3 separate regions of the Homo sapiens genome follow, and regions 2 and 3 are each linked to region 1. The links are contacts of gene promoters, found by promoter capture Hi-C in blood cells and fetal thymus (Javierre and others, 2016). All regions are on one chromosome and are shown on one strand. Each heading gives the region's core, a stretch centred on a gene start or on the middle of the fragment in contact. The rest is flanking DNA. Distances are from core to core; before and after follow the strand shown.

Region 1 (4,137 bases), core at 1,522-4,021:
AGATGAACTAGAACTCTAGATTTTAAAGTGAACTCTGATTTACTGATTTTCGCAGGGAAGGCTAAACATTTCTTTTATGAATACTCCACATCATATACCTGTACCAATATTCCTAATACATGGGTACCTGAAACATTTTCTCCAGTTTTCCATGCCTAGTTTCTTTACACTCTCACTTCATTCAATGCTTTATTAATATTTATGCCACTTAACTTTTTCAGTCGGTGTCCTTTATTTACTCTAATCTTCTATTTCTAGTCAATGCAAGACATAAAGGTAAGGAAGGGCAAGATTCAAAATTGAGATTTTTGGCCGGGCGCAGTGGCTCACGCCTGTAATCCCAAGATTTTGGGAGGCCGAGGTGGGTGGATCACGAGGTCAGGAGTTCGAGACCAGCCTGACCAACATGGTGAAACCCCATCCCTACTAAAAATACAAAAATTAGCAGGGCATGGTGGCGCGCCCTTAATCCCAGCTACTCAGGAGGCTGAGGCAGGAGAATCGCTTGAATCTGGGAGGCAGAGGTTGCAGTGACCTGAGATCTCGCCACTGCACTCCAGCCTGGGCCGCAGAGCAAGAAAGACTCCGTCTCAAAAAAAAAAAAAAAAAAAAAATTGAGATTTTTGGCTGGGTGCGGTGGCTCACGCCTGTAATCCTAGCAATTTAGGAGGCAGACGCGGGTGGATCACCTGAGGCCGGCAGTTCCAGACCATCCTGACCAACATGGAGAAACCCTGTCTCTACTAAAAATACAAAATTAGCCGGGCATGGTGGCGCATGTCTGTAATCCCAGCTACTTGGGAGGCTGAGGCAGGAGAATCGCTTGAACCTGGGAGGTGGTGGTTGCAGTGAGCCGAGATCGAGCCATTGCACTCCAGCCTGGGCATGAGTGAAACTCAGTCTCAAAAAAAAAAAAAAAATTGAGATTTTTGAGTGAAAATGACTTATGTCCATGTTAACATATGACTGAAAACAATTCGATGCTCCAAGGGCCGACCCTGAGACTATCTAGCTGTAAAAGATGACTCCTAGTTTGGGCCAGGACGAACAGAATGAAAATCAGCTCGGACTGAAATGAGAAAAAGTAGTTGTGCTGGGAGGACAGATACAGAAAAAGCCAGCAGCAAAGTTAACTGAGAAACTTCTTTCTCCCACAGCCGTGCAGTAGCTATGACACGCCATATTCACCCCTCTTTGAGTAACTGCTGCTCTTACTAGTGTTGCTACTTTATTACTGGAGGTACCTAATTACTAAATTGCTGTATCCTCAAGACAGCATCCAATCCCTCGTAAATCCCAGCTTTTCTTCATGCCGCCACGGAAACGGCGTCCCATGCAGAACTGATTCTGGCTCTCCTTAGACCCTCCTCAGACTCCTTTGGCGGGAAACTAATCTTACAAAGGAGGCTTCCTCTTTCCTTTTCCAGTGGCATTCCAAGCTTCCTTTGGAGTGCCCTCCCTCCTGATTTACAAATTGGCCTGACGTTATCGGAGTACAGGCTTTTTCCTGGTGGTTTCTGGCCTAACAGGAGACAGATTAGTAAGTACCAGGATCTCTAATAGGTCAACTTTCATGATCTCTGCTAAATTCTCAGCTGTTTAGACTTACAATTTTTAACAGCTAAAAGGAAAGACAAATGCTATCTAAAACTGTCCCATCAGCCCATTTACAGGGAGCACCTCCCCCATACCGCCCTAAAATCCTTTAAAAAATGGCTTTAGTCATTTTATCTGCCTTGCATTTAAGCGAATTCAGTTTAAGTGGCTTCAGTTCTGAATTCCTGGATTATATCGAAATGTTGCAGATGGCGGTGTGTGGGCTTTGAGCTCGTAAATTTTTTGTGTGGTACTAATTCAAGACGATTGAGAGCAGGTTGGGATCATTTTAAAAAGAGTTCTCGGCAGGGTGTGGTGACTCAAGCCTGTAATCCCAGCACTTTGGGAGGCCGAGGCGGGCGGATCGCTTAAGGTCAGGAGTTCGAGACTAGCCTGGCCAACATGGTGAAAACCCGTCTCTACTAAAAATACAAAAATTAGCCGGGCGTGGTGGCGTGCACCTGTAATTCCAGCTACTCGGGAGGCTGAGGCAGGAGAATCGCTTGAACCGGGAGGCAGAGGTTGCAGTGAGCTGAGATCGCGCCATTGCACTCCCGCCTGGGCGGCAAGAGCAAAACTCTGTCTCATTAAAAAAAAAAAAAAAAAAAAAAAAAAAAAAAAAAGGGTTCTCTAGTAGGAAGTCCCGAGTTGTATCCATGTTTTTCCGGGCGTCCCCCGGAGGGACAGGTTGCGGGTGACCTTTTCAAGTGTGGAGGAAAGGGAAGCTGCTTTTGTCTTCAGGAATGATGCAGGTCTCGACTCAAGCCTGACGGGCCCAAACCTCCCTGGAGCTGGCTGACGACTCTGCCCGAGTTCCTGAAGAGGGGTCCCGGGGGTCCCGGAGCGGAAGTGGGAGCGCGTGGGCGTGGGCTCCTCGGCTGCCTGGGGCTCCAGACTTGTGCTGCGTGCGGCTCCGGAGCTCTGTTCTCGCTCCTGAGCAGCTGCTAGGTTTCCCAAGCGACTGTCTCAACCGCCCGGCCGCCTCCCCCGGGCAGCCAGAGCTTCACATCTACCTCCAGCCGGGACCCGCCCCCGAGCCGCGGGGCCCACGCCCAGAGCCCTCCGCCGTCCCCAGCGCAGTGCAGCAGAGCGCGATCCAGTCTGGGGCCGGGCCGCGCTTCCGCGCACGCGCGGAGAAACCCGCGCCCTCCGAGGGGGGAGGGGACAGAGGGGGCGTCACGGGGGCAGGAGAAGAAGGAGGAGGAGGCCCGCGTCGCCTCCGGCGGGGCTCGCGCTCGCCCCGCGCTCGCCCTCCGCCTCGCCCGAGCCCCGGGAGGGTGAAACGCTTTCTCCCAGCATGCAGCGGGAGGAGGGATTTAACACCAAGATGGCGGACGGCCCGGATGAGTACGATACCGAAGCGGGCTGTGTGCCCCTTCTCCACCCAGAGGTGAGGAACCGTGCTGAGTGGATTCCTTGCCCTGCGGCCCTCCAGCCTTTCTTCCCCGGACTCGCCGAGGGCGGCGGCCGACGTGTGTGGGGTAGTGGGACGTGCCGAAGTTGGGGAGGGTGGGGAGGCGAATCCAGGCCTGAGCGCGGCTGCGAGCGGATAACGGGGGAGGAGATAGCGGGGCGGGCCCGACCGGGGCGGGCTCTGGGACGCAGTCCCTGGCTGTGCCTGGAGGACAGAGGTGGAGGTGTTGATGGTTCTGCTGTGTCGCCGCGCTGCGTTTGAGAGCAGAGGCGGAGGGGCCTGGTGTGGTTTTTGAACCGCAGCTTAGACCCTAGTCTTGCTCCAAGCCTCTTGGGGCCAGGTGGAAGCGCGTCTGGTTTTGATTTCTTTTTCCTTCGCCAGGGTGAATGACGGTATCTATTGCTTCCTTTTAGTCCACTGTGAGGGGACAGTTTCATGGGCATAGTGATGTCCTTCCAGGTAATGCCATGGGTAGCACCTCGGGCACCTTGTGTCGGGCGTCCTTTTTTGAGCATTTGTCCTTAAGCGATTAAGAAGAGAGGTAAAAACTTTTGGGAATAGACTTACACTCACATTAGCTTGTCAAAGTACCGTTTTTCTAGGAGCTAGGGGTGGACAGTGCAACACGTTTCCCATCACAACATGAGTGTCTTCCCATGTAAGTAAACAGTGCCCCGCTCCACAGTCAGTCAGTCTGTGCTTGTTTACCTCCGAGTTTGTAGCTGAGCTAGTGCTAGTTAAGGCTTGGAAGCAATTCTTGATGCATTCTGATTTTTAGTGATCCACAGTGATGTCTGTATGCGGCAGCGGCACAGTTTGCTGAAGAACTCGGGTAGTTTTCATGAGGTTAAAAGATGACAGTCGTGTTGTAGGATGAACAAACATGGAAGTCTCTACCTGGTTACTTTGCAATGGAGTGATTCTGTTTTTTTCTGGATTTGGGTTTGTACCATGCCACTAGTTTTTGTTAAAAAGTGAATAATGACAACCATCCTTTTATGTTGCATGTTAACACTCAACCACCCTCTCATTCGTCACTTTGGTTTATCAAAAACACATGGGACAGTTCCTTCGGAATATATACCTGTGCCAGTCTCAGTAGAAAAGGCTACTCTGGGTTTCTGATA
Region 2 (3,731 bases), core at 439-2,938, about 22 Mb after region 1:
GTGCCACCAAGCCTGGCTAATTTTTGTATTTTTTGTAGAGACAGGGTTTCACCATGTTGGCCAGCCTGGTCTTGAACTCCTGACCTCATGATCTGCCCACCTCGGCCTCCCAAAGTGCTGGGATTACAGGTGTGAGCCACCGCGCCCAGCCGTAACAAATCTTTTAACTCTGAAAAATACACTATTTGGGATGAGTCACCAGTAAAGTATAATTCCATATGTAGTAGCATAAAAAATGTCTAGATGTCCAGGGTCTCTTCTAAAATTCTATCACTCTGGAAGATTAACAACAGTCTTACTAAATAACTTTACACATGAATGAAAAATGGAGAAAAATTCTATTAAGATGCCAATCTTATTAAAATGAAATGGGCTATTCCCTCCTCCCGCCAGAAAAAAAAAGGCTGGGAAAATAAAATTCACAAGTTGGTTTTTTTCTTTTTTCTTTTTTTACGAGTTGGTTTTAAGGTTATTTCTAATATTCATTTTTCCTAATGACACCAATATATCGCCATTTACCTGATTTTAAAACTGCAACTGGTTAGTTTTAAGTGAACACAAGTGCTATGTTTTTGTAGCTTTACCATATTCAATCTGTAACTTACTTAATAAAAGACCTTAAATTCATAATGCATGCACGGTGATCAAAATATGAGCACTCCTCCAAGCTCTGCTACTATAACGTTTGCTCCTTTGGGAGCATAATGATATGGTTTTCTTTTTTTTTTTTTTTTGAGACGGAGTCTCGCTCGGTCGCCCAGGCTGGAGTGCAGTGATGCGATCTTGGCTCATAGCAACCTCCGCCTCCCGGGTTCAAGCGATTCTCCTGCCTCAGCCTCCGGAGGAACTGGGACTACAGGCGCCCGCCACCACGCCCGGCTGATTATTCGTATTTTTGGTAGAGATGGGGTTTCACCATGTTGGCCAGGCTAGTCTCGAACTCCTGACCTCAAGTGATCCACCTGCCTCGGTCTCCAAACATAATGATCTGTTTTAAGGTTGCAAGTATTTCCATTAGGTATTTATGGGGTGAGTAGGGTGGGGCAGATGTGTCCCGGAATGGGGCACAGCGGACAGGAAGTAACGGTTTATAACAACGTGAACGCTTCTGACGTGTAGCGGGAGCTTCAGAAAGCGTGGCCGAATCTGCAGCTCTTAACAAATGGCTCGTTCCCAAACCTTAGCCTCAACTCCTTCTGAGCGATAGGGGCATGCTACCAGCACGGGGGGAAATGAGATACAAGAAACGCCCGAAAGGGAAAAACAAGGCTGGGCTGTTTCCTTCCTTTGGGGTCAAGACAGAGGCACAGAAGGCCCAGGTCTGGGAGGTTGGATCACCTCCGGCTGGATGTTGAGCCGGGTGGGAGCCCAAACAGCAGGGGGCCCACAGGAGGCCGGCCCAGGCAGCCTCGCGTCCACTTACCAGGCCAGGCCCAGGCACGTCCCCAGCGACAGCAGGCTCAGGCACGTTCGGGGGTCTGCCCAGCCCCCGCCTCCGCTGCTCCGGGCCACGGGGGTCTTCCCGCCCTCGCTCCGCTTCCCGGGCTCCGCAGCAGGGGCTCCCTTGGGCCCCGACTTCTTCCGGCTCTTCACCTCAGACATGTCTGGAGACCCTAGGACGACAAGCCCAGGGCAGCTTCTTCACCAGGGGGAGCAGGACGTGGCCGCCTTGGCGTTCGTGGGAACCCTGGGCGGTGACCGCGCCCCCTCACAGACTTGGCACCGCCCAGAGCCCAGCCCCTTCCCTCTCCCCGGCATCCTCGTTGCTTCACTGAGTCTTTCAGCTGCCAGCTCCATAGTTCCCCTAGGAGAGGTGGGCGGCGACCTCAACCCACAGCGCCTTCCACTGCGATATTGCTCCAAATCCGAGGAAATTCAAACTCCCGGGCGCGCGCAGGCCGACGGGACCCGAGGAGGAGGGGCAGGACGAAGGGGTCGCGCGCGCCACGTCGGGCGCGCCGCCGCTGCCCGAGTCCGGCATTGGTGGGAACGCGGCGCGTCCCTGAGGCTTAGCCACGCCCCGTCCGCGGGGTAGGCGGGCACTTCTACGCGCGCGGGCATGAGCCGTGGCAGGAGTGCGCGGCGGCAGCGGTGGCCGCCCCTTGGGGCTTGGGGTGTGTTTATTTGCATAAGCGGGCGCGCGCCGTCCGGGCTGGGTGGATCCGGCGGGATTTGACTGCTCCGCTGTCCAGAGGCGGAGAAGAAGAGGTAGCGAGTGGACGTGACTGCTCTATCCCGGGCAAAAGGGATAGAACCAGAGGTGGGGAGTCTGGGCAGTCGGCGACCCGCGAAGACTTGAGGTGCCGCAGCGGCATCCGGAGTAGCGCCGGGCTCCCTCCGGGGTGCAGCCGCCGTCGGGGGAAGGGCGCCACAGGCCGGGAAGACCTCCTCCCTTTGTGTCCAGTAGTGGGGTCCACCGGAGGGCGGCCCGTGGGCCGGGCCTCACCGCGGCGCTCCGGGACTGTGGGGTCAGGCTGCGTTGGGTGGACGCCCACCTCGCCAACCTTCGGAGGTCCCTGGGGGTCTTCGTGCGCCCCGGGGCTGCAGAGATCCAGGGGAGGCGCCTGTGAGGCCCGGACCTGCCCCGGGGCGAAGGGTATGTGGCGAGACAGAGCCCTGCACCCCTAATTCCCGGTGGAAAACTCCTGTTGCCGTTTCCCTCCACCGGCCTGGAGTCTCCCAGTCTTGTCCCGGCAGTGCCGCCCTCCCCACTAAGACCTAGGCGCAAAGGCTTGGGTAAGTTGACCTCCTCGCTTTTCTCCCCGAGCCAGGTTCTTTGGAGGCTTGGTAGCTGATTTCAGGGACTGAGAATTTGAGGACATGGAATATTTGATAACCATCCTGCTCCTGTACCAGGAAGAGAAATTCTGTAATGAGGAAGTAGTAAACTTGGGGTTTTCGTGGATAAACGTGCGCTGTTTTCTGTTTTACGTCCATGAAGAGTTTTGGCTTTCCATTTTGTTGTGGGTTACAAAAGGTTTTGAGACTTAGTTCAGATAAGTTGTGCAGTTTTAAAACGTATTTAAGATTTGCATATTTTAGTTTAACAGGACTAGGTGAAATTGGAAATTAGTTTCAGAAAACCAGAGTGTCTTATTTGCTTAGCTATTGGACATCACCTAAAAAATTCATTCATTCTTGTTTTTTCACATCGAATTTCATTACTATAAATTAAGGAACATTTTATGTTTAAGAGGACAAAAACGTTATTAACATTTTAAAAAATGAGAGTTTTGATTCGAATCAATAACTTTTTATCAGTTTTGTGCCCCTGCTGGGCATTTTGTAAGCCTTGACAAGCATAGGCAAATGCCCTACGTCCGTCCCTGTTTTTCCAAGTGCTACATTTGGTGACTTCAAAAACAGTCATTGAAGCTTGATAATTATTGCCCCCTTCTGTGAGCTCCAAGTTACTTGTGCTCTGTTTTTGCACTTCGGGCATTCACATTCCCACTCTCTCTCTCTTTTTCTTCTTTGAGTAGACTGTGAATTATTTCAGGCAAATGACTCAATCTTTTCTGTAGTCTTGGTGTCTGACATATAGGGAGGGGCACAAATGTGTATTGAATGAATGAATTGATAAACCCGTTTAGACTCTTTCACTCTATACATTGTGTAAAGTTCTGTTAATGTTTTGAAAACTTGCAGATATTGTGAACTGGGTTTTATGCCCATGGAAAAATTTGCATTATATTTGAAATAAAGTTGCTAGAAACGTCAAGTATTTTACT
Region 3 (3,791 bases), core at 1,114-3,613, about 54 Mb before region 1:
TGGCTATTCTGGCTCTTGTGGCTTTGCATGTAAACATTAGAACTGGTTTGCTGATATCCACAACATAACTTGAGGTGATTAGAATTGAATCAGTAGATCAGGTTGATAAGAACTGATATTTCTTGCACATTTTTAAAGTTTTGCTTTTAACATTTAGGTTTCTAATCTTCCCCAAATTAATTTTTATGCATAATAAGAGGGAGGGATCAAAATTTTTTTCTCATACAAAAAGCAATTGTATCACTACGGTTCATTGATCAGTCTGGACTTTCTCACTAATTTTTAATGCTACTTTTGTTATATACAAAGTTCTCATATGTGTGTAGGTTTTGTTCTGGGACTTTATTATGTTCTAGTAGTTTATTTGCCCATACCTAAACCAATATATAATACATCCTGGTAGGGTTGGTCCTCCCAATATATTCCCTGATCTTACCTGTCCCTATCCTCCTCTCCCCAATTACAGCGCTTTTCTTGGACCTTAAGTTTTGATATGAATTTCAATGTCATTTTAACAAGTTCAGTAAAAAAACCCTTTTGAGATTTTAACTGGAATTGCATTATATGTACTGATTAGTTCAGGGAAAATTGAGGCCTTTACATTAATCTTTTCTCATTTATGAATATGGTTCATTTCTCCATTAATTTTATCCATGGATCCTGTACATTTTCGGTTACTTTTGTTCTCAGGTACCTAATAGTTTTTTTTTCTTTTCTTCTACTTGTTAATGGACTCTTATTTACCATTACAAACTAGTGCAGTTTGCAACATAATTTTCAATTAAATTGTTTTACAGTTACATAGTTTTAAAATTCTTAAAATGTCAACTGCTTAATAAAAAATACAATTTATACAAAAATACAAGAGATACTATCTGAAATGTGAAAGTAGTAGTATATTTATGATTTCTCCCCAAAGTGGAAGGAACACACACTCTAATGTTTCTTGTAGAAAATTATGCCTAAATCTGGCAGGGCGCGGTGGCTCACGCCTGTAATCCCAGCACTTTGCGAGGCCGAGGTGGGTGGATCACCTGAGGTCAGGAGTTCGAGACCAGCCTGGCCAACATGGTGAAACCCATCTCTACTAAAGATACAAAAATTTGCTGGGCGTGGTGGCACGCGCCGGTAATCCCAGCTACTCGAGAGGCTGAAGCAGGAGAATCCCTTAAACCCGGGAGGCGGAGGTTGCAGTGGGCCAAGATCGCGCCATTGCACTCCAGCCTGGGCGACAGAGTGAGGCTCCGTCTCAAAAACAAAACAAAAAAAAACAGAAACAAAAAACAAACAAAAAAACCACTAAATTTGAAAAATGTTAAATCAACTTCTTTGCTGTATTATAAAGCTCCATTTCCACCCCTCTTTTTAGTTTAGGAAGTTTACCGTTATCGGTGAAGTAATTATTTTGTTAATTACAAAGGTAAGTAGGTTCTTTCTGAACAATCAGGATGTAAACTTAATGCTAGTGAAGTAATTAAACATTTTGAATGTTAATTAAACTCAGTCCAGTTAAGGGTTTTATTTACTACTAACAAACGTATTCACCGTGTGCTAAGTGCTGCAGGGAATCCCAGCCCGTTTTCCTCCATCTAAAAGGAAAATTAGGAGGTCCCAATACTTTACTTGTAGATTTTCCAGTTTCTACCATTCCCTGTAAGGCACTGAGACGCAAGATTTCAAGGCCCACTCGGGGTACCCTGGCATGGACATCGAGTCGTTCTAGCGCTGAGCTTCAAAACTATTCCTTTCCTTCCCTTTCTTCTTCATACCAGACTCTAATCTGTTCTCCCTAGCTTCGAATTATTCACTGTATGGTCGAACATCTTACTCCACAAATAACCTCTGAAGTGTTGCAGTTGTCTTACCCAAATACCTGAACTCAGCTTGTCCCGAGTACTGCGATCCCGCGTACTGCTAATGGGAATATAGTTAACCCAACTAGTATGAGGTCCCCAGTACACAGCAGCTCCAAGATCAAGGCGACCGAGTAACACTGCTTGCCTAGACTCAGGCCAAGTTCGGAGAGTGATCCTGGGGTTATTTTAGAACGTGTCCCTTGCTTCCCAGAAAAATTCAGTCGTTAACTCAAGTCCAGATGCCCAATGACCATTCGGATAAGGTGAGCTAAAGCTTCAATGCCTTGAGGGGCTTGGCAGGGCTCGGGCTCATCCCGGAGAAGCAGCCCCGCTTTCCAGACTAGCAGTTCCCAGGGATGGGTGTGTGCTAATCGCAGGCCAACAAGCCCAGCGCGGTACAGAGGTCCCATTGTGACCGGAGGCGAGAAACCCCGCCTCGGCACCCTGACGCAGCGCAGGACCCGCCCCGCGCGTGACGCCAGCGTCAGGCCAGCCCCGGCATGCTCTGCGGCCGCCCGCGGTCCAGCTCCGACAACAGGAATTTTCTCCGAGAGCGGGCCGGGCTCAGTTCAGCTGCTGTCCAGACCCGGATCGGCAACAGTGCCGCCTCCAGACGTTCTCCTGCCGCTCGCCCGCCCGTCCCAGCGCCCCCAGCCCTCCCGCGAGGGCGCCCCGGGACGGAAGGATCCACCAGTCTGTCGGCGCCCGCCGTTCTCGTGGTCGCCGTCGCCGTCGTCGTGGTGGTAGTCTCCGCCGTCGCCTGGGCCATGGCCAATTACATCCACGTCCCTCCCGGCTCCCCGGAGGTGCCCAAGCTGAACGTCACCGTTCAGGATCAGGAGGAGCATCGCTGCCGGGAGGGGGCCCTGAGCCTCCTGCAACACCTGCGGCCTCACTGGGACCCCCAGGAGGTGACCCTGCAGGTAACGCCCACACCTCAGCTCTGGGTCTCTTATGCCCCTCACGCGGCTCTGGGGGTCCTCACCACAATCGCCTCTGTCCCACGATGACCGAGGAGGACCTAGGGCAACATCTCCTTAAGTCTATTGGGAAGTGACCCTGTATTTCCCCTCACACCTAGGAGGGTCACTCCCCCTTCCCGTCGCAGTTGCTCTTTGAGATTGACCTGAGGCACATTTTCTCTTTCTAGAAGCCGCTGCGTAAGTGACGGACCCATCCACGGGGGGAGATTCCTGCTGATAGTTGCCCCTCCTCCCACTCCCCAGTCCACGGTCACTGCAAAATGAACCTTTCCACTCCCCTTGCACGGGGTCCTCGTCTACCTCCTCCCCTCCCACCAGTAATGCAGTCATTAATCCTCTCTGATCTTTCCTTCCTCTCCCCTCCCCCTGCGATGTGCTTTCATTGATGCCTCACACTGCGTTTTGTCTTCCCAAACCCTAGCGTACTCAATTCCCAAAGTAATGACCACGACCATGCATCGCTAGGTCGGTTCTTAGGCAGCACCACACACATTGTTTTGTTTGAGTCGATATTTCTGAATTATTAAAGTCGTCTTACTGAAATTAATACCTGATACTAGAAGGAGCAGTGGCTTGTGACTGTTTCCTTTTCATGAGACACCGTGTTGATAGAGAAAAAATTGGGAGGAAAAAAATCCCTGAGACTCTAGGAGTTTTCTAATAAGTTGGAAGTTATGATTTCCACTACGTGATTTTTTTTGAATACTAATCTGTTTTTAGCTTTAGTTTCAGGAACTAGATACAAAAATAGATCTCTTTTTCTCCTTTTCCCTTGCAAACAAAAAAAAACAGTAATTTTCAAGATTGGGATATTTGGGATTTGTTCTAAATCTGAGCAATAATGTAAGAACATTCATTTGAATTAGCCAAATCATCTGCCTCGTTTTGATGACTAATTTATTCACCAATATTTGTTGATTTATTTGCTAAATTCTTCGCTAAACTAGCCAGC

Evidence for each region. Contacts are between HindIII fragments. The CHiCAGO score rates a contact against its expected background, and 5 or more counts as called.
Region 2: the fragment with the promoter of IKBIP here is called in contact with the fragment with the promoter of ZDHHC17 in region 1 in 2 of 17 cell types (total B cells and non-activated CD4 T cells); the score reaches 6.6 in total B cells.
Region 3: the fragment with the promoter of ETNK1 here is called in contact with the fragment with the promoter of ZDHHC17 in region 1 in 1 of 17 cell types (total B cells); the score reaches 5.8 in total B cells.

Annotation. Positions count from the first base shown.
Region 1 is chr12:76,761,344-76,765,480 of GRCh38, forward strand. It overlaps ZDHHC17 (zDHHC palmitoyltransferase 17), which reads left to right and starts at 2,772. Exons shown (of 17, transcript NM_015336.4): 1 at 2,772-2,986. The coding sequence starts at 2,894. RefSeq lists enhancers at 2,270-2,369, 2,666-2,960, 2,936-3,778, 2,970-3,119 and a silencer at 2,510-2,919. The HindIII fragment of the contact is 3,524 bases long and covers 1,438-4,137 here.
Region 2 is chr12:98,643,100-98,646,830 of GRCh38, forward strand. It overlaps IKBIP (IKBKB interacting protein), which reads right to left and starts at 1,689. Exons shown (of 3, transcript NM_153687.4): 1 at 1,424-1,689. The coding sequence starts at 1,602. It overlaps APAF1 (apoptotic peptidase activating factor 1), which reads left to right and starts at 2,191. Exons shown (of 27, transcript NM_181861.2): 1 at 2,191-2,736. RefSeq lists enhancers at 407-1,034, 1,035-1,661, 1,662-2,289 and silencers at 1,866-2,065, 2,386-2,595. The HindIII fragment of the contact is 4,349 bases long and covers 1-3,373 here.
Region 3 is chr12:22,622,808-22,626,598 of GRCh38, forward strand. ETNK1 (ethanolamine kinase 1) reads left to right here and starts at 2,364. Exons shown (of 8, transcript NM_018638.5): 1 at 2,364-2,779. The coding sequence starts at 2,624. ETNK1-DT (ETNK1 divergent transcript) reads right to left here and starts at 2,239. Exons shown (of 4, transcript NR_135030.1): 1 at 1,866-2,239. RefSeq lists enhancers at 2,009-2,078, 2,609-2,778, 2,798-3,487. The HindIII fragment of the contact is 2,136 bases long and covers 2,129-3,791 here.